Regions from separate parts of the Homo sapiens genome. Here all the other regions are linked to region 3. Evidence: promoter capture Hi-C in human tissues and cell types (Jung and others, 2019). All regions are on one chromosome and are shown on one strand. The core of a region is centred on a gene start or on the middle of the fragment in contact, and the rest is flanking DNA. Distances in the headings are between cores, read along the strand shown. Region 1 overlaps SEPTIN2 (septin 2). Region 2 overlaps HDLBP (high density lipoprotein binding protein). Region 3 holds the start of BOK (BCL2 family apoptosis regulator BOK). Region 4 overlaps FARP2 (FERM, ARH/RhoGEF and pleckstrin domain protein 2). Region 5 overlaps SEPTIN2 (septin 2).

Region 1 (4,239 bases), core at 42-2,541, 220 kb before region 3:
GTTCTCAGATGTGGGCCCCACCTGTGGGGTTTGTGTGATTGGCAATTCTACTTCTGAAACTTCCCTTCCTTGGCTGCTGAACCACTGTGTTTGCTTTTCTATCTGCTGTTTTTTACCACCTTCCTTCCTGATCCCTGAAGGTCAGTATTCCTTAGTATTATTTTGATCACATTATTTCTGTGGCTTCTGATTTGCCCTTCCAGGTATCTTATTTCTTGTTGTGAACCACATTTACCCACAGGAGTCCTCTTTTGACCACTGATGGACTCCTGTCCTTCCAGCTCCCCTGTCTCTTTAAATGGTCCCACAATTCTTGAAATCATCCAGACTGAGAAATGTGTAAATTATTTTTTACTCATCACTTCTGACTCCTCTGCTCACTTTTAAATAGCTTACTAACTGTTTCCGAACTCTTCTCTCCTCCAAAGTGTAAGCTCCATCTTTATGAGGCCAGCATAGGACAAAAGATGAGGTTAGCATGGATGGATAGTAGACCAGGAAAGGGGCCGTAAGATGAGGACAGGTGAGCAAGTTCATGCTTCTTATTGCTCAGTTTCTCCCAGAGATAAGATGGTTCCTCCCATTTAGGAATAAGGATTTATGAAAAGACTGAAGGTCGAGTTACAGAGTAAAGGATGTAGAGAGGAGGGCCTTTTCTGGAGTTCTGAATTAGTGCAGACATTGTACTAAGACCAAATCTCTGACCATTCAAGGCCCTTTTTAGGTCACATTAAGGCTTTCCATTCTTAAAAACCAGAAAGCAAATCCAGTGCACAGTTTGAGGTCGGGATATTTTCTGCTCACGTTGCTCTTGTTCTCTCTTCCCTGAATGGCTCAGGTACTGAGGTGAGACCAAACAAAACTGTGGCCTGCCTGGTGCCTGTGAGAATGCCCACCATGCAATGAGCATTTGAGTGCTAGGGTTTTAATTGATTGACTGATGAATGCATTCGTATTTCAACTTCAGCCCAGTTCTTTCTCCCCTCAAGCCCCATCCCCCACACTACTGCCTGCTTGATAGGTCCGATTGTGGGATTTCACTGCTGACTGCTGGCTGCCTGTTGAATGAAATACAGATCCCCAGGTCGCTAGCCTGGTGTTGATGGAACTCTCCACTTTGTAATTCCAATTTTTGTTTCCTTATCCAACTGGATGTCTTAGATTCCAACCTTTTGAATTTCTTATTCTCAAAATGCACCCCATGTGTCCTCTCTGTGCCTTTGACGAGGTTTTGTTTTTTTTTCTTTCTTTCTTCCTTTTTTTCCATCTGGGGTACTTCTCCCTTCTCTCTGCTTTTAAGACTCCTGCCTGTTCTCCAGGGTCTTCTCATGCCTGTAGCTTCTCTGTGGCAATTACCCTTCTTGAGGCTGATTGTGGTGTGATTTCCATTTTAGCTGTTGTGCTGGGGCTATCGTTAGTCTTCCTGCTGCTTTGTACATTGAGGGTAGTGGTGCATTATTGCTAATGTTATTTTTATTCTGTACAGAGGATCCTCAAAATTCAAGTATAAATACCTTTCTAGCAGTTTTGTAAATTTTTTTTTTTTTTTTTTTTTTTTGAGACGGAGTCTTGCTCCGTCACCCAGGCTGAAGTGCAGTGGTCTCAGCTCACTGCAAGCTCCGCCTCCCGGGTTCACGCCATTCTCCTGCCTCAGCCTCCCCAGCAGCTGGGACTACAGGCGTCCACTGCCACGCTTAGCTAATTTTTTTGTATTTTTAGTAGAGACAGGGTTTCACCATGTTAGCCAGGATGGTCTCCATCTCCTGACCTTGTGATCCACCTGCCTCGGCGTCCCAAAGTGCTGGGATTACAGACGTGAGCCACCACACCCGGCCGCAGTTTTATAAATTTATTTGACAGTAACTTTCGTCATCAGTTTGATTATTGACATTTGTATGATTTCCAATATATTTCTTACAAGATGAGCTAGAATTGGCTACAATAACATACGCAGTTTGCTAAAATTGATCCTGGTTTTGTCATTCTCTCAGATTCTGGATGAAATTGAAGAACATAACATCAAAATCTATCACTTACCTGATGCAGAATCAGATGAAGATGAAGATTTTAAAGAGCAGACTAGACTTCTCAAGGTAAGAACTGGCTTCAGATCCACAACATAAATAACTCCTGTTTACTGTTGTCCATGTTGAGGTGAGAGAGATTGCCTGGGTATGTTCAGTTACGAGAGTATTTTTGCTTTCAATATATTTTAAGACCTCATGCAGTGGCTCATGCCTATAATCCCAGCACTTTGAGAGGCCAAGGCAGATGGATCAGTTGAGGCCAGGAGTTCCAGACCATCCTGGCCAACATGGTGAAATCTCATCTCCATCAAAAATACAAAAATTAGGTGGATGTGGTGGTGCACACCTGTAGTCCCAGCCACTCGGGAGGCTAAGGCAGGAGAATCACTTGAACCCAGGAGGCAGAGGTTGCAGTGAGCCGAGATCGCGCCTCTGCACTCTAGCCTGGCGACAGAGCAAGACTCTGTCTCAAAAAAAAAAAAAATTTGATACAGCTATCACCTAAAGCTTAGAAATTTTATTGTAGGTTTAATTTGTTTTCGTACAATTTGTCCCATGTAGAAAGTATCTGACACTTTTCAAGAAAATGTTACATACCCCCAGCTTTCCAATTCAGTTTTGTAGTCAACAGCAATGTGTTAAGTCTGTGCTAATGTTCTCGTGTTGCCAGTGAACTCTGGGGTTCCCTGTGTGGAGCCTGTCTACTCTGTGTGTCTCTTTCTAGGCTAGCATCCCATTCTCTGTGGTTGGATCCAATCAGTTGATTGAAGCCAAAGGAAAGAAGGTCAGAGGCCGCCTCTACCCCTGGGGTGTTGTGGAAGTGGAGAACCCAGAGCACAATGACTTTCTGAAGCTGAGAACCATGCTCATGTAAGACATTTGGTGTGTTCCTTCTGGCAGAATTTGGCGTGAAGAATATGGATTTCAGACGGGGTGTACACTTGGCCCCCAAGATAGTTGCAGCCAGCAGCTTCATTGCCGCCCTCAGTGTTTCTCACATCGCAGAAGTGGTGTGGGGCTGTTGCAGATTGGTGCTGAGAACCCTCACCCAGGGGCCCTCTGTGGCACTACTAAACTAGCGCTTCTGCCTGTGGCCTGTAGCCTGCAGTACCTTTCCTTCTTGCTAAGATCTTACATCTTTGATGTTAAAAGGAGAAAAGGAGACTAGAACCTAAACTGGGGTCTGAGAGGTCCCCAGTGCTGGTAAGGAAACAGTCAGGCTGTATAGGCCCCTGGTCCACTGCTCCAGGCTGAGCCACCCCTGGTGCCCTGCTCACCAGTCTGAGACTCATTGTATGGCCCTGGTTAGCTTTTTGTGTCTTCCATTTATTATTAATAGCAATTACAGACCTGACTACAAAAATAGTCTTCTTTAAAAATGAATTTCATGGCTGGGCGTGGTGGCTCACACCTGTAATCCCAGCACTTTGGGAGGCTGAGGCAGGCAGATCACGAGGTCAGGAGTTCAAGACCAGCCTGACCAACATGGTGAAACCCCATCTGTACTTAAAGTGCAAAAAATAAATTAGCCAAGCGTGGTGGTGCGCACCTGTAATCCCAGCTACTCAGGAGGCTGAGGCAGGAGAATCACTGTTGAACCAGGAGGCAGAGGTTGCAGTGAGCCAAGATTGCACCACTGCACTCCAGCCTGGGCGACAGAGCGAGACTCTGTCTCAAAAAAATAATAAATTAAATAAATAAATTTCACATATTGTAACATGCATACATTGCTTTTACTCTTGAAAAAAGAGGCTGAGGCCGGGTGCGGTGGCTCATGCCTGTACTCCTGGCATTTTGGGAGGCCCAGGCGGGCGGATCACTTGAGGTCAGGAGTTTGAAACCAGCCTGGCTGACATGGTGAAACCAGCCTGGCCGACATGGTGAAACCAGCCTGGCCAACATGGTGAAACCCTGTCTCTACTAAAAATACAAAAAAATTAGCCGAGTGTGGTGGTGGGTGCCGGTATTCTCAGCTACTTGGGAGGCTGAGGCAGGAGAATCGCCTGAACCTGGAGGTGGAGGTTGCAGTGAGCCGGGATTGCGCCACTGCACTCCAGCCTGGGCAACAAGAGCAAGACTTCATCTCAAAAAAAAAAACCAAAAAGAACAGGCTGAGAGTATTGCTTAAACTATACCTCTTTAATCAGAGGACTTCAAAGAATGACTGATGTGGATAAATCAGTGTTTTGATTAGCTGAAAGTCGCTACATAT
Region 2 (4,146 bases), core at 1,117-3,616, 250 kb before region 3:
CCACGCCCGGCTAGTTTTGTATTTTTAGTAGAGACGGGGCTTCTCCATGTTGGTCAGGCCAGTCTCGAACTCCTGACCTCAGGTGATCTGCCCGCCTCAGCCTCCCAAAGTGCTGGGACTACAGGCGTGAGCCACTGCGCCTGGCCTCAGCTTTCTTATTTTTAAAAGAAAGGAGCTGAAATCCTACAGGTCAAAAAGTACCCCAAGTCAGGCTGGGAGCAGTGGCTCATGCCTATTATCACAGCACTTCATTGGGAGGCCGAGGCTGGCAGATCATTTGAGGTCAGGAATTCGAGACCAGCCTGGCCAACACGGCAAAACCCTATCTCTACTATTGTGCATGCCTGTAGTCCCAGCTACTCAGGAGGCTGAGGCAGGAGAATTGCTTGAACCCGGGAGGCGGAAGTTGCAGTGAGCGGAGATCATGCTGTCATACTCCAGCCTGGGTGACAGGGAGAGACTCTGTCTCAATAAATTAAAAAAAAAAAAAAAAGTATCCCAAGTCCCCAAGTCATAAGGCTGATAAGAACAGGTCCAGGGAGTAGCTCTGAACCTATTCAAAAAAAAAAAAAAAACGAGGAAAAGCCCAAAATTGAAGTGAGGTCTCCTGACTCCCAGTACAGTCAAAGACACCATCCTTTCATTTTTGTTTCTTTTTTGGGGGGCGGGGGGGACAGGGGGGCAGTGTCATCCTAACCTGGATAAACATCTCAACTCTTTGTTGAGTCAGGGAGAAATAATCAATATCCTGCCTTCTGTACCTAAGACAGCAAGTACTGCTGCAGGTCTCACAAGGTCTACCTCAAGAACTTCTGAGACTACAACAGAGGGAAAAGGCAAGCCCTAGAGTGGATCTGAAAAACGCTTATTTGAAAGAATTCATCGAGACTGCTCACGCCACTTGCTGACTGTTGACTTTGACATCAGCCACTTCTTACCTCTTCCTGCCCCAGGAGAGACCTGCGGTCATAGCACTGGGGTCTCTGGGATACAGCTAAGCCTCCTGAGAGACTGGAATGGGATGGGTAGGGGCTACACGAATAATGGTTTAATTAACATTGACAGTATTAATAGATTAATACTGCAGTGGGCTTGCTGTAGTGATGGTCTACCAAGGAACTTGATTTTTTAGCTTTAAAAATATTCTAAAAGATAACTCAACAAAACAATGTAAAAACTGGCAACCCCCCCATGAGGCTTTACCAAAAAATATATTCTAAACTGTATCTTCAAAACTGTAATTTTAATTATACTTTAATTATAATTTTAATACATGATTTAAATAAAAATAGGATCTTACATGCATTCTTTCACCATCTGCTACACTTATTTTCATTTGAAAAGACACCATGGCCATCTTTCCGAGTACCAAATACAAATTTACCTCATTTGTTAACAACTACATGTTGAGTGGAGTAAACATACCTTAATAAATCCCCTACTGATAGGACCCTTGAACTAATTTTTTTTTTTTTTTGCGATTATAAACAATGCTGGAAAGAACATCCTCTGCTCACTTGGGCCTCTACCCCCACAGGATAAATTGAATTGGAAATGGAATTATATGATGACAGGCAATGCATTGATAGATATTGCCAAGGTAAAACTGCCCACCTCCCAAAGAGTTTAACTAGTTACACTCACAACACCTGATTACAGAATACCTGTCCTCTTCTCCTTTGAGGACAACTAAAATGATCATGTTTATTCTTTTTTCCAGCCTGATGTGCGGGAAATACGATTTTAATGGCAACTCTGATCATCAGTGAGACAGCAATCTTGTTGAGCTTATTGACCTTTTGAATTTCTGTACTGTGAAGATCAAACTAATCACAACCAATCCGTCGTCCACCTTTCTACCAGTGTTTCAGCAACGCTTGTGAGACAAAGCAAAATCCACATCTGGGCAACAGAGCAGTAGGAATGAACAGAAAGAATTATAAATTTAAGTGAAACTCAAGTTGTATGCCAAAAATAACATTCCTAAAGGGCACCCAGGCAAAAGTGATGAGAAAATACTATTAAAAAGGACATCTTTTGCCTCAATTAGTCACACAGTAGACAACGTAAGCTGATGACCTGAGACACCTCAGCCTGCCAAAGTTCCGTTTCATTCACAAACATTAACCTACTCTGCTTTAAGAGAAGGGCTCCCCCAAAAGGTAATTGTGCTTGCAGAAAAGCGTCAAAGTGTATACTGTTTTGCGGGGTATGCAGACCTGGGTAGATGGTAGACTGAGGCTGACTGACAAGGCCAGGTTAGGGAAGCAGTGAAGTAGCTGAAGGCACAAACTGGAGCCAAACCACTAACTCTAGCCTTTGCCTCAGGGTCTACCTCGACCTGTGATAACAACAATACTTGCCTCCTACAGGTGACAGGAAAAGTAAGAAATGTCGTGAATGGTGTGGCCCATGGTCACTTCACCACGATCCACCACCAGTACTGGGTCACTCTGCTCCAGCTCTCCAAAGGCATCAAGATCCGACTGCTAGGAGCCCCGGCTTCTTCCCTGACCTGCCCGTCTCCTACACCCTCTGGTCCTGCTCCACACTGGTCTAATAACTGGTGTTCCACATTCCTCTAACGTGCACAACACAGTCCTGCCCCCGTGCTTTTCACCTCCTGTCCATTCCTCTTATAACGCTCTTCCCCAGATCGCTGCCCATGGCTTGTTTGCTCATCTCAAGTTTGAATCAACTGTCGCTCAATCAGCAAGGCCTCCCCACTATGCCAAACTGCCACTGTGTCCCCCACTCCACTCCCCTCGATACTTTATTTTCCTCCTTTCTTCTTGTCCACATTGGACATACTGCATATCTGCTGGTCTGCTGACTGCCTGACACCGCTTACCAAAACGTGACCTCCGTGAAAGTGCAGGAGAACACACTTGCATTTTCCTTACTGTGTCCCACTTCCTGGAACAGTGTCTCCAGCACGAGCCGTTGTCAGATCAATACATTTACACTACTTCGTGAAGCACCACTAAAATGATAGTAAACGATTTTTTCTTTTTTTAAGATACAAATCACGAAAGCAAAGAATAAGAATAGAGATAAGAACATTAAAATACTGGAGGCTAGAAACTGGAAACAGACCTAAAAGGGCTGAATCCTGTATCGGCAATGGGGAAGGCCAACTGGCAATATGACTGGAAGCCAGGAGACCTGAATTAAAAACAGAGTTGGCTGATAGGTTTAAAAGGCACGAAGATCCCTAAGATGCACCCCACAACTCTGCACAGCCACACAGAGCCAACCTGCACAGTCCCTCTCCTATCCTGGCAAAAAGGTATCGCTTTTCTGTCTGCAAAGGGAAGTAGAATCTTTGGACTGGGGACACCAGTTACAGAGGAGGGAAACAATTCTGAAAAGAGGGAAGTAAGCTCTTTTATGGTTACTGCTGTGCTCCCAGGCCTCTCTCCTCACTTGGCCACTCAGCCAGGCAAAGGGCTACAAGATATTTCTCTGGGGAATCTGAAGAAACCCAAAGAAGCTGACAAGGGTGCTGTAAGGAAATGGCCCAGCCAGGTGCCTCTGCAGTGAAAGCCACAGTCAGCCACAGACACAGGCTCAGAGGCCCTCTGACTCACGAGCAGGCACAAGAACATCACTGCATAGCCCAGAAAAGGCTGACAAAAGCCAAAAACCCACAACAAACCAGAGCAGCCTCAATAGTGACTTAAGGAAAAAGAAAACAGGGAAAAATAAAACCTCATCAATATCTTCCAACAGTTAACAGGAGATACCACATTCATGAAACAAAAAATAGGTTATAAAATAGGAATAGAGGGAACAAGAAAAAGCTCTTAGAAATGAGAAAAACCTTGGTAGAAGGGCTGGAAGACAAACTTGAGAATAACTTCCAGAAAGAAAATGAAAAACCAAAGGGTACAAAACATCAATTAGACAGGAGGAATGTGGTTTTCTTTTATGAGATATATTGTACAGCACGGTGAATATAGTAAATAATAATGTCGATTTCAAAAGTGCTGACAGTAATCTCATATGCTTTCACCACAAAAAACTTAAAGTATTTGAAGTGATGAATTATGTTAACTTGATTTTATTATTTATTGTATCCATAAATCGTAACATCACTTTGTACCCCCTAAATATGTACAAGTATAATTTGTCAATTTACAATTT
Region 3 (4,200 bases), core at 757-3,256:
AATTACATTGACCTCATAAAATGAGTTGGGAAATACTCCCTCATTTTTAGTCTCTGTGCAGGTTTGTATGAGACTGGTGGTATTTTTTTAACTGTTGAGAAGAATTTCTCAATGAAACCATCTGAACCTAGAATTTTCTTTGTGGGAAGATTTTAAATTACAGATTCAATGCATTTAATTGGTGTAGGACTATCCAGATTTTCTATTTCTTTTAGTGTCAGTTTTGGTAAGTTGTGTATCATCTAAAATTTCAAATGCACTGTCAAAAAGTCCTCCATACTATCTTTTTATCCCTTTAATGCTTGTAGTATCTACAGTGATGTCCTCTTTTTCATTCTTGATAGTGAAATTTGTGTTATCTTTTTTCTTACTCAATCTTTCTGGGGATTTATCAGTTCTATTAATCTCTTCAAAGAACCAATTTTTGGCTTTGTTGATTTTCTCTATTTTTTGCTTTATTCCATTAATTTCTGCTCTTATTTTTATTATTTCCTTTCATCTTTAGTTTTATTGTTCTTTTCTAGCTTCTTGAGTGGAAGCTTAGAGCAGTAATTTTATTTTTCTTTTTCCTTTTTTTTTTTTTTTTTTGAGATGGAATCACACTCTGTTGTCCAGGCTGGAGTGCAGGTGGGATGATCTCTGCTCACTGCAACCTTCGCCTCCCAGGTTCAAGCAATTCTCCTGCCTCAGCCTCCTTAGTAGCTGGGATTACAGACACCTGCCACCACACCCAACTCATTTTTTGTATCTCTAGTAGAGACGGGGTTTTCACCATTTTGACCCGGCTGGTCTCAAACTCCTGAGCTCAGGTGATCTGCCCACCTAGGCCTCCCAAAATGCTGGGATTACAGGTCTGAGTCATTTCACCTGGCCTAATTTTCAATCCTTCTTCTAAAGCTATCAAATTTCCTCTAAGCAGTGTTTTAGTTGCACTGTACAGCATTTGATATGTCTTATTTTTCACTGTTCTTGTCAACATATTTTAATCTTCCACTGTGATTATTGACCCATTGATTATTTAGAAGTGTGACATGTAATTTCCAAGCATTTGCAGATTTTCCAGTAATTTTTCTGTTATTGACTTTTAATTCAGAGAGGACACACTGTAAGATTTCAATCCGTTGAGATTTGCTGAGACTTGTATAAGGTCCATGATATGGTCTATTTCGATAAACATCCTATGTGCACATGGGAAGAATAAGTATTTTATAGTGTTGTACACACGTGAATTAGGCCAAGTTGGTTAATCCTATTGTTCAAACTGTGTGAGGTTGATTCAAGGATAAAGAAATAAACCAGTGGGATAGAGTTCCGAGACACACACACACACACACACACACTCTTCAGCTGATTTATGTTGAGATGTTGGGGACTCCTCCAATTCGGTGGAAAAAAAATGATGCTTTTCAATAAATGATGCCAGGTCAATTGGATATCTACACGAAAAAAAATGAGCTCTAGCCCCGTACCACACCATTCACAATAATTAATATGTAATCAATCATAGATCTAAATATGAGCCCTAAAACAAGCTTCTAAAAGGAAATACAGGAGGATATCCCAATAAAAAGGTACTAACCATAAAGAAAATATTGATAAATTGGACATCACTAAGAGTAACTCCTGTTCATCCAAAGCAAAAGTAAACCACAAAATAGAGGAAGATATTTGCAATAACTTCAATAAATGCGAATCCAATAATCCATCTACAATACAAAGGGCATGCGTCCGGACCAAGAACACGTCTCCAGACTCTGGAAAGAACCTCTACGAACGAAGAAGACAACCCAATTTTCAAATGGACCCCGGGGAACACCCAGGCGGCTGGGGCTGGCTCTAGGTCCCCACTGCTCTGCCTTGCGGGGGCCGCTCCGGCCTGGTCGCCTTCTCCGGGCGCATCCAGGGAACTCGCTCGGTCCTCCTTAAGCGGGGAAGCTCGGAAAGCGTCTCCCCGACTCCGCCCCCAGGGTTGCCTTTCCCTTAGAAGGCCAAGCCCCAAGCCCAGCCTCTCGCCAGCTGGGAGTCGCGCGCTGCCCACCTCGCTGCCCAGGCCCCCGACGCCGCGGCAGGAGCCCCCCAAGAGCGCGGGAAGCCCCGTGGACCTGGCGCTCCCGGCTCGGGCGTGGACGGGGCGGGCGCCGGGGCGGGGCGCGCGTCCTCGCGGGTCTGAATGGAAGGGTCGAGGTCGTCGTCGGCGGCGAGCAGATCCTGAAGCCAGAACTCCACCCCGGCGCCCGCGCCATGCGGCGGGAGAGGTGAGCGCGGCGGGCGTGGCGTCCGTGCCGGGGTGCCCGGGGTGCCACGGGAACGGCGAGGCCGGGGACACGCGCGCAGGACGCCAGCGGCGGAGGTGGGCGGCCCCGGGCCGGGGCGGGGAGGGCCGGGTCCTGGCAGTCGCCGTGGGGGACGCGCTGGGCTGTGCCCTCCGCCCCCGCCGCCCACGCACTCGTCTTCGAGGGCGGGCCCGGCGGCCCCGGAGCAAACCGCCGTCTCCCCGCGGCCCCACCGGTCCCTGGCAGCCTCGGGGAATGTCTGTAGCTGAATTCGGGCTCTGAAAGAAGGTGGCGCTGGGTTTTTAAAGATTTGGGGCACAAAAAACGAGAGCGGACCCGGCGCCGGCTACGGCCCTTCCCGAGGGCCACGCCCAGCCCGGCGCCCCGCGCGCCCCGTTCCCCGCGCCGCCTCCCTCCACCCGGCTGAGCGCTTGTGCCCGCAGGTGCGGCGCCCCCCACCCGCGTCGCCGCCATGGAGGTGCTGCGGCGCTCCTCGGTCTTCGCCGCCGAGATCATGGACGCCTTTGACCGCTCGCCCACAGACAAGGAGCTGGTGGCCCAGGCCAAGGCGCTGGGCCGGGAGTACGTGCACGCGCGGCTGCTGCGCGCCGGCCTCTCCTGGAGCGCGCCCGAGCGTGCCGCGCCGGTCCCGGGACGCCTGGCTGAGGTGTGCGCGGTGCTGCTGCGCCTGGGTGAGTGCGCCCTGGTGGGATCCCCAGCTGCGCCTCCTCCCCTGCTGGGCCGCAGCCTCCCTCCGAGGCCGAGATGGGGGTCCGGCCCAGGGGCGCCCACCCCCTGCCTGGGACGGCCAGGCGCTCGGGACAGGGCCACCCAGGCGGGTGCTCCCGGATCTGCCCTCTCAGGCCTCCCACGCCACAGGCCCCCCCATCAGCTGCCTGCTCAGCCCAGATTTCAGTCATGCTGGCCATAAACAATAGAAAGCTCCAGAAAGAATAATCTATTAGTGGGTGGCTAAGCTTCCACAGTGACCCTTGTTCTCAGCTGGGCACAGAAACCCTTTGTAGGAGCACGTGTCCCGATGTTTATTTTGGAAAACAGATTCTTGCTGTTACTGGCCGAGATCCCGCCCGCTGCCCTCTGGATTCCGAGGCCTCCGAGGCCCCCCCATTGGAAACTGCGCCCACCGGGCTGGGTAGCCAAAACCTCAGTATTCGTTGGTGCTGTGAGGACATCTGGGGGTGCTCGGTTCTGGGGTCACACACGGTCCACTGGCTGCCCCCACCGTCTCCAAGGTCTGGACCCAAGAGGGAGGGACCAGCCCCACTGTGACTGTCCAGTCCCCTCACCACAGCTGGGCTGTGGCCGTCACCTGGGAATGTTTATGTGATGCCCGAAGAGGGCACATGGGGCGCCTGTGGCTGAGCCCGGGAAGGGGAGGTGACAGCATAGGTGAAACTGAATCGGTGGCTCTCCAGGCAGGGGGTTGGAGTCGGAGGGCACGACCCCGTGAGGGGACACGCTGCCTCCTCTCAGGCTGGCGCTGGCATGGGCTCTAGGTGGCCCCTGCCCTTACGTGGTGGGCTGGGCCCAGAGAGCAAAGCTGTGTAGACCTGGCCTGCCCAGGAGTGTGTGTGGGGTGCAGACAGAATCCATGGGGACCAGCACAGAGCCTCCAGGAGGAGGTGGAGTCCCATCTGAGAAGTTCAGAAGGAGGGAGAGGTCTCTGGGTGGGAGCTAGGGGGTTGGTGGGGCTCCATGAGATCCGCCGCCTGCTGCTGCCTCTAGTCGGGCTCTGAGAATGACCCTAGGGGATCCTTTTAGTGGCCTTCTGAAAAGATGATGCCAGACCCCTGGAATGGCTGGGAAGAAGTCCCAGATGTCTAGGGGGACCCCAGAGGGACACAGCTCAGACCTGCATCTGCCCTCACGGCTGCTCAGGGTCAGTCCCTTGAGGCCAGCGCTGTCT
Region 4 (4,411 bases), core at 1,585-4,084, 130 kb before region 3:
TAATAATGAACTTTGCTGAGCTAAAGGAGCATGTTGTAACCCAATGCAAAGAAGCTAAGGACCATGATAAAACAACACAGGAGCTTATAGCCGGTTTTGAGAGAAACATAACCTACCTGATGTAGCTGAAAAACACAACACGAGAACCTCACATTGCAATCACAAGTATCAATAGCAGAATAGGCCAAGCAGAGGAAAGAATCTCAGAGCATTGAAGACTATCTTTCTGAAATAGGCAGACAAGAATAGAGAGAAAAGAATGAAAAGGAATGACAGAACCTCCAAGAAATATGGGATTATGTGAAGAGACCAAACCTATAACTGATTGGGTTACCCAAAAGAGACAGGGAGAATGGAATCAAGTTGGAAAACATACTTTGGGATATCATCCAGGAGAATTTCCCCAACCTAACGAGACAGGCTAATATTCAAATTCAGGAAATGCAGAGAACCCCAGTAAGATACTCCACAAGAAGATCTGCCCCAAGACATATAATCATCAGATTCTCCAAGGTTGAAATAAAAGAAAAAATATTAAAGGCAGCCAGAGAGAAAGGCCAGGTCATCTACAAAGGGAATCCCTTCAGACTAACAGGGGACCTCTCAGCAGAAACCCTACAAGCCAGAAGAGATTGGGGGCCAATATTCAACATTCTTAGGAAAAAATTTCCAACCCAGAATTTCATATCTGGCCAAACTAAACTTCATAAGCAAAACAGAAATAAGATTCTTTTCAGACAAGCAAGTGCTTAGGGAATTCATCACCACCAGGCCTGCTTTGCAAGAGCTCCTGAAGGAAGCACTAAATACAGAAAGGAAAAACTGTTAACAGCCACTGCAAAAACACACTGAAATACATAGACCAGTGACACTATAAAGCAACCACAAAAACAAGTCTGCAAAATAACCAGCTAGGACCATGATGACAGGATGAAATTCACATATAACAATATTAACCTTAAATGTAAATGGGCTAAATGCCCCCAATTAAAAGACACAGAATGGCAAGCTGGATAAAGAGCCAAGACCTATGGGTATGCTGTCTTCAAGAGACCTGTCTCACGTGCAAAGACACACATAGACTCAAAATGAAGGGATGGAATAAAATTTACCAAGCAAATGGAAAACAGAAAAAAACAAGGCTTGCAATCCTAGTTTCTGACAGAACAGACTTTAAAGCAACAAAGATTAAAAAAGACAAAGATGGGCATTATATAATGGTAAAGGGTTCAACAAGAAGAGCTAATTATCCTAAATATATATGCACCCAATACAGGAGCCCCCAGATTCATAAAGCAAGTTCTTAAAGATCTAAAAAACGACTTAGACTCCCACACAATAATAATAGGAGACTTTAACACCCCACTGACAATATTAGACAGATCATCAAGACAGAAAGTTAACTTTCTGAAAATATTCAGGACCTGAACTCAGCCCTGGATAAAGTGACCTTATAGATAGCTACAGAACTGTCCCCCCAAAAACAAAAGAATATAAATTCTTCTCATCACCACATGGCACTTTGTCTAAAACTGATCACATAATCGGAAGCAAAACACTCCTCAGCAAATGCATAAGAACTGAAATCATAACAAACAGTCTCTTACACCACAGCACAATCAAATTAGAACTCAAGATTTAAACATTCACTGAAAACCACACAACTATATGGAAATTGAACAACCTGCTCCTGAATGACTCTTGGGTAAATAATGAAATTAAGGTAGAAATCAAGAATTATTTGAAACTAATGAGAACTAAGAGATAACATATCAGAATCTGGGATGCAGCTAAAGCATTGTTAAGAGGGAAATTTATAGTACTAAATGCCCACATCAAAAAGCTAGAAAGATCTCAGGTTAACAACCTAACATCTCAACTAAAAGAACTAAAAAATCAAGAGCAAACAAACCTCAAAGCTAGCAGAAGACAAGAAATAGCCAAGATCAGAGCTGAACTGAAGAGATAGAGACACAAAAACCCCTTCAAAAAATCAAATCCAGGAGCTGGTTTTTTGAAAAAATTAATAAAATAGACTGCTAGCTAGACTAGTAAAGAAGATAATAGAGAATAATCAAATGAACAATCTGAAATGATAGGGGAATATCACCACTGAACCCACGGAAATATAAACGATCATCAGAGAATGCTATAAACACCTCTATGCACATAAAGTGGAAAATCTAAAAGAAACTGATAAATTCCTGGACACATACGCTCTCCCAAGACTGAACCAGAAAGAAACTTATAAAAACCCTAGATGAGGGCTAGACACAGTGGCTCACGTCTGAATCCCAGCACTTTCGGAGGCCAATGGGGGCAGATCACTTGATGTCAGGAGTTCAAGACCAGCCTGGGGCCAACATGGTAAAACCCTGTCTCTACTAATATAATAATTAGCCAGGCATGATAGTGGGTGCCTATAACCCCAGCTACTTGAGAGACTGAGGAAGGAGAACCGCTTGAGCCTGGGAGGCGGAGGTTGCAGTGAGCCAAAATCAAGCCACTATACTCCAGTCTGGGCGATGAAGTGCGACCCTGTCTCAAAAACAAAAACAAAAAAAACCCTGGAAGAAAATCTAGGCAATGCCATTCAGGACACAGGCACAGGAAGGATTTCATGACGAAAATGCCAAAAGCAATTGCAACAAAAGCAAAAATTGATAAATGAGATTTAATTAAACTGAAAAGCTTATGCACAGCAAAAGAAACTATCATCAGAGTGAACAGACAACCCTACAGAATGGGAGAAAAATTTTGCAGTCTATCCATCCAACAAAGGATAATAGTGGAGAAGACCCAAGAACTCCCAGGAAGAAGAGAGAAAGAAGTGTGATTTAAAATGGCCTGGAACTATTCCGTAGCAGTACTGGAAGCTAGAAAGCAACGGGGCTTTCCGAGCCAGGGGGAAATTGAATCCCTGAATAGACTAGAAATGTGTTGTGAAATTGAGGCAATAATATCCTACCAAGTAAAAAAAAAAAAAAAAAAAAAAAAAAAAGTAGCCCAGGACCAGATGGATTCACAGCTGAATTCAACCAGAGGTACAAAGAAGAGCTGGTACAATTTCTCTCTCTCTCTTTTTTTTTTTTTTTTTTTTGAGACAGAGTTTCATTCTTGTTGCCCAGGCTGGAGTGCAATGTCACTGCAATGGCAGCATCTCAAACATTAAAAGGAAATTATTTCCAAACTAATTCTTTTGTTTTTTTTTTTTTGAGACTACAGTTTTATTATTACTCAAATCAGTTTCCCCGAGCATTTGGCGATTTTTTTTTTAAATTTGGTGTGTGTGGGGCTCTAGACTAGAATTCTGTGCTCTGTTCCACATGACTTCTGTACAGAGAAAACCTTTTTTCACACATGTAGATTTTTAAAAAATTTAACTACTACTCTCCCTTTGTAAGGAAAAACTAGAGGAGAGAATGAACTAAAAGTGAGAAAGAAGGAAATAGGGTGCTCCACATCCGAGACAGGCAGAGGAAGACACAGGTTCTGCCTGCCAAGAGAGCATCCACCAATACCAGAGCAGAGGGCAGGGCCCCGGGAGAGAGGGTAGACCAGGGACTCATTTCTTTTGCTGGACGGTGTGGAAGAGTGTTAACTAGGGATAGGTACATGCCGGTGAAGCAAATGAAACGAGGCAATTAGGATTCTCAAGGAAATTTTGAAGAAGGAAGCTTTACTTTATAATATAAAAAAAGTAGTTAAATTCACTATAGCTCAGCTTGTGAGCAATGCTTACATGACCATTAATATAAATACTGAATTTAAAATTTACCAACAATTAGGAGAGTGTGGGGAGGGGTAGGTGTGAGGTATTGGCAGTGACAGATGTTGAGGAGGCAAGATTTCAAAGTGGAGAATGTGCTAGCTGTCATAAATGTGCTTTTCAGAAATACGGGTGAATGAATGGATGCATGAGAGTAAATCCCAGAAAGGCAGCCAAGAGAGGTGAAGCTGGTTCTGTCTGAGGAAGAGGACTTGATGTGGAGTGGGTGACCCTGACCTGGCAGTTTGTTTCCAGTCGTGTAGTCTATATGGCATTTTCAGATATGCCCTGGATTATTGGATGAATATGAAAATGAAAACAGTAGATTTTAGCATTCCACAGCTAACTGTGCAGGTTTAAAAGTGTTGTCTTAAAGTCTGTCAAGTCAGGGTGCAGTAGATGAAAGCTGTGATTGTCCTTGGATTTTCTATTTATTTCTCCTTTTATCATGGTGGTCAAGACCCTGGGATATACAGTTGGCCCTCCATATCCGCAGGAAAATAAACGATAAAAAACAATACAGGCTGGGCGCGGTGGCTCACACCTGTAATCCCAGAACTTTGGGAGGCCAAGGCTGGTAGATCACCTGAGGTCACAAGTTCGAGACCAGCCTGGCCAACATGGTGAAACCCCATCTCTACT
Region 5 (4,237 bases), core at 1,058-3,557, 230 kb before region 3:
AGAGAAAAAAAAATTCCACATATCTTTAAAAATATTGTCACATTTTTCAGACACTCAGATGCCTTCAGTACTATTTCCTTTCCTCATAAATGTAGTTCACATTGCTCTCTGTACCCCAGTGTCAAAATCTAGTTCTCAGGTAGCTCTAGGAAACTCCAGTGGGTGGCAAACATGTTCAAGTTACAGTGCTCTATGTAATGAAGTCCCTTACTCCTTGAAAGGTTTCAAAGAGAGAGGGGAAATGACATAATTCCAGAGGTCAGGGAAGTATGTATCCGTGTGTATCCCATTTGTGTCCCTAGTGTCTAACATATAGTCAGTACTGAAAAAAAATTTGAATATTATTGAAAATATGGAATATGTGCGTACATATATATATACAGTTGCTTTTATCAACTTAAAAATTTTTTTAATTTTTTAATTTTTTGTAGAGATAGGGTTTTGCTATGTTGCCCAGATTGGTGTTGAATTTTTGGCTTCAAGCAGTCCTGCCTCTGCTTCCCAAACTGCTGGGATTACAGGCGTCAGCCACTGCACCCAGCCACCATCTAATTTTTTTTTTTTTTTTAATGGAGTCTCACTCTGTTGCCCAGGTTGGAGTGCAGTGGCATGATCTCGGCTCACTGCAACCTCCGCCTCCCAGGTTCAAGCGATTCTCCTGTCTCAGCCTTCTGAGTAGCTGGGATCACAGGCACGCACCACCACGCCTGGCTGAATCAGTATTTTTAGTAGAGACGGGGTTTCACCATGTTGGCCAGGCTGGTCTTGAACTCCTGACCTCAAGCGCCACCATGCCTGGCTGAATCAGTATTTTTAGTAGAGATGGGGTTTCACCATGTTGGCCAGGCTGGTCTTGAACTCCTGACCTCAAGTGGTCTGCCTACCTCGGCCTCCCAAAGTGCTGGAATTACAGGCGTGAGCATCACGTCTGGCCTAATTTTTTTAATCGAATTTATTTTTGTAATGATAGATGCTTGTCTTATTCCTAGGGAAATATTTGAAGTAATTGAGATGCTGTCACCTAAAATAATCAAAAGGCTCCTGATTCAGTTAAAAGAATTCATTTAAGTACAGAGTGTAAGCGAGCTACACCAAAGAATGGTGATTAGCGCTCCCAGGGTGGGGAAAAATGAGGATTGTTTATATAGGCAAAATGGAGGTGCCAAACAGAATTATAACATTTTCGGAACTAAGGCTCATTTAAAGATACAAATTTGATTGGCTACTATTGATTACACTTGAAGGGATTTGTTTAACTTCCTTTTGTAAAGAAGTAACAGTCATAAGGATCTCTCATCTCCCAGTCATTTAGTCTAGTTTTGAATAAAGAATAGGGGGTCTGGTTAATATATACATCTAAACACAAAAGTCAGAAAGAATAAAAGTAGTGATGTTACACGAGCCAGCTGTCAGTGCTTAACTTTTCCCTTTGGCCTAATGCATTTGGAAGGTCCTGAAATTGTATTTTCTTTTTACATTGCCTATGTATGTGTAAGTCTTCTTCAGGTCAGTTCACGCTGTTAAATATACGTGCGTATACATACATACTATGTATGTGCGTTTATGTGTGTCTGTGTGTTTTTTTTTTAACAGACGAAGCTTCACAAAAGATGTCTAAGGTAAGATCATACTTCATGTATCTACAGCATAAGGAGAAATTGCTTTATGTTTTCAGACTGTTGACAGTCGGGACTTATATGATTCATTATTTTTAATACAACTGATACATTTGATTCATTAACACAAAGAGTTCTAATTTAGTTGTCTTTTTTTTTTTTTTTTTGAGACGGGAGTCTTGTTCTGTCACCAGGCTGGAGTGCAGTGGCATGATCTCAGCTCACTGCAACTTCTGCCTCCCACGTTCAAGCGATTCCCCTGGCTCAGCCTCCGGAGTAGCTGGGACTGCAGACACGTGCCACCACGCTGGCTAATTTTTTGGATTTTAGTAAATTCGGGGTTTCACCGTGTTGGCCAGGATGGCCTTGATCTGTTGACCTCGTGATCCACCCGCTTTGGCCCCCCGAAGTGTTGGGATTACAGGTGTGAGCCACCGTGCCTGGCCTAATTGTCATCTTAAAAGCTTGGAGCTTTCTCTTTTTTCAGGCTTCTACTTTCTTTTCTCTACACACATCAGTAACAGTCCTTTTGGCCCCCTTAGTTCATTCCCAGCAGACCAGATAATTTAGAATTCTGATAATTTATTATGATGAAATTGATGGGGCTCTTAGACTTGATAAATTGGTTTAAATCAGCCTTTGCAAGTTAGTTCAGAGATAAATTAGTGCTAAAGAACATATTCTGAGAAAAGCAGAACTTGTGGTTAACATTGCAAGATTATTATTTCTGTTTTTTTTTTATCTTTGAATCCTGTGGGTGTTCATTACTGTCCAATGCAAAATCATCATACCAGTTTTTGCATTTTATACCAGTGTTAGCATGGAACACAGATAAGCAAAAAAAAAAGTCATTATTTCACCACTCAGGAATAACCACTGTTAATATGTTACATATATTCTTTTTCACCTGTGTGTGCATTTGACTATACATTTACAAAATGTAATCCTAAAGGAAATACTATTTTGTATCTTGCCTTTTTCAATTAATAAATTGATTTTTAAAATTTCTTCTCATTTTCAGTATGCCACTGTCTAGATTCTGGTTACTTCTGCTATTCTTGCCTTCTCATATCTCTGTCCTCTCTCTCATCAGATACCCTTCTGTCAAGGAATATTGATGCTTCAGTGTAGTCATCTATGATCTTCTCATTCTGTCTTTTCTTTCTTGGTCTTTGACACTAGATACTCAACATCCCACCCCTAATTTGCCTGCCTCACCCTTGATGAAACTCTGTTCTATAGAGCTAGAAGCACAGCAAGAGAGATGCTTTTTTCCTCGATACTTTTCAGAAATGCATTGCACCTAATACCTGGGAGAAGCTATTCTTTAGCCAAGTTTGTTGAATGAAACCATTCATTCAAAGTACTGTCAGCTGTAGCAGTACTTTGTAAGCTTGACTGATTTTCCTGGAACTCCATAGTCTCTCAAGTCGAAATTTGAAATTGCATTAAGATGTATTAAGCATGTATCTTCTATGTATTGTTAAATTCCTAAACAGAATACTGATTAACAAAATGTTAATTTTCAGTCGCATACAACTAAGGAGTTATACTAGATAAGTTTTTCTTTTTTTAATGCTCCTAGTTGAATACTACTGGTTTTCTGATAGAAGTATGACCTTCTGGAAGTGTTTATACTTTTTAAAAAATTTGTGAAAACTGATAACCTATGTTTGTTTCATGTCTAACTGATTATATCTTAAAAGCAACTACTAAGGTGTTTATTAGTTTGTTTGTTTTTTAATCTTATTTAGCAACAGCCAACTCAGTTTATAAATCCAGAAACACCTGGCTATGTTGGATTTGCAAACCTCCCCAATCAAGTTCACCGAAAATCAGTGAAAAAAGGTTTTGAGTTCACACTGATGGTGGTCGGTAAGAAATTAATCTATAGTCTCCAACTTACTAAATAAATATCTCCCCTTTCCAATCTCTGGAGTATGATAACGTGACCTATAAAGAAAGAGGAAAATTTGGCAGAGTCAAATAACTTGAGAATTTGAACAAATATATGTGTATTCATTAGAAAATTTTTCTCAGGAGCAAAATTATTTTTCTGTCACTTTCTTATTTATATGTAGTGAAAGTTTACTCATTGTGTCAGCTAGGCTCCAAAATGGCCCCCAGTGATTCTTATCTCCTGGTATTCACAACTTTCTTGTCCCTTCCTGCATTGAATAGGGTTTTACCTGTGTAGCCAGTAGGACATTGTGGAGATGAAAGTGTTGTCATTTTCTAAGACTAGGTCATAAAAGGCATTATGGCCCCCCACCTTGCCTCTTCTCAAATTACTCACTCTGGAGGAAGCCAGCCCTTCCTGCATTGAATAGGGTTTTACCTGTGTAGCCAGTAGGACATTGTGGAGATGAAAGTGTTGTCATTTTCTAAGACTAGGTCATAAAAGGCATTATGGCCCCCCACCTTGCCTCTTCTCAAATTACTCACTCTGGAGGAAGCCAGCTGTCATGTCAAGAGAACACTCAAGCAGCCTTACAGGGAAGCCCACCAAGTAAGGAACCAAGGCCTGCCAATGGCTGTGTAAGTGACCCGTTTCAGAAATATCCTCCAGGCCAGGCATGGCGGCTCACACCTGTAATCTTAGCACTTTGGGAGGCCGAGGC

The links. The method cuts DNA at HindIII sites, captures the fragments that hold promoters and counts their contacts. A contact is called where the count stands out against the background at its distance.
Region 1: a fragment that was not itself captured here is called in contact with the fragment with the promoter of BOK in region 3 in 2 of the 25 tissues and cell types used here (dorsolateral prefrontal cortex and hippocampus).
Region 2: a contact is called between a fragment that was not itself captured here and the fragment with the promoter of BOK in region 3, in 2 of the 25 tissues and cell types used here (dorsolateral prefrontal cortex and lymphoblastoid cells).
Region 4: a contact is called between a fragment that was not itself captured here and the fragment with the promoter of BOK in region 3, in 3 of the 25 tissues and cell types used here (dorsolateral prefrontal cortex, hippocampus and lymphoblastoid cells).
Region 5: a fragment that was not itself captured here is called in contact with the fragment with the promoter of BOK in region 3 in 1 of the 25 tissues and cell types used here (dorsolateral prefrontal cortex).

The regions. Positions count from the first base shown.
Region 1 is chr2:241,341,001-241,345,239 of GRCh38, forward strand. SEPTIN2 (septin 2) reads left to right here. Exons shown (of 13, transcript NM_004404.5): 8 at 1,992-2,093; 9 at 2,752-2,897. Among named protein-coding and RNA genes, the nearest start is that of FARP2, 13 kb to the right of the region's middle. The HindIII fragment of the contact is 6,582 bases long and covers 1-4,239 here.
Region 2 is chr2:241,306,413-241,310,558 of GRCh38, forward strand. All of the region lies in intron 1 of HDLBP (high density lipoprotein binding protein), which reads right to left. Among named protein-coding and RNA genes, the nearest start is that of HDLBP, 7.2 kb to the right of the region's middle. RefSeq lists an enhancer at 2,992-3,493. The HindIII fragment of the contact is 9,441 bases long and covers 1-4,146 here.
Region 3 is chr2:241,556,739-241,560,938 of GRCh38, forward strand. BOK (BCL2 family apoptosis regulator BOK) reads left to right here and starts at 2,007. Exons shown (of 5, transcript NM_032515.5): 1 at 2,007-2,255; 2 at 2,717-2,965. The coding sequence starts at 2,746. BOK-AS1 (BOK antisense RNA 1) reads right to left here and starts at 2,405. Exons shown (of 2, transcript NR_033346.1): 1 at 2,039-2,405. RefSeq lists silencers at 2,670-2,749, 2,780-2,849, 2,900-3,029. The HindIII fragment of the contact is 1,356 bases long and covers 1,036-2,391 here.
Region 4 is chr2:241,422,662-241,427,072 of GRCh38, forward strand. The region is part of intron 8 of FARP2 (FERM, ARH/RhoGEF and pleckstrin domain protein 2); the gene reads left to right. Among named protein-coding and RNA genes, the nearest start is that of MIR3133, 53 kb to the right of the region's middle. The HindIII fragment of the contact is 3,912 bases long and covers 879-4,411 here.
Region 5 is chr2:241,322,623-241,326,859 of GRCh38, forward strand. SEPTIN2 (septin 2) reads left to right here. Exons shown (of 13, transcript NM_004404.5): 2 at 1,594-1,619; 3 at 3,371-3,491. The coding sequence starts at 1,611. Among named protein-coding and RNA genes, the nearest start is that of SEPTIN2, 8.8 kb to the left of the region's middle. The HindIII fragment of the contact is 3,359 bases long and covers 629-3,987 here.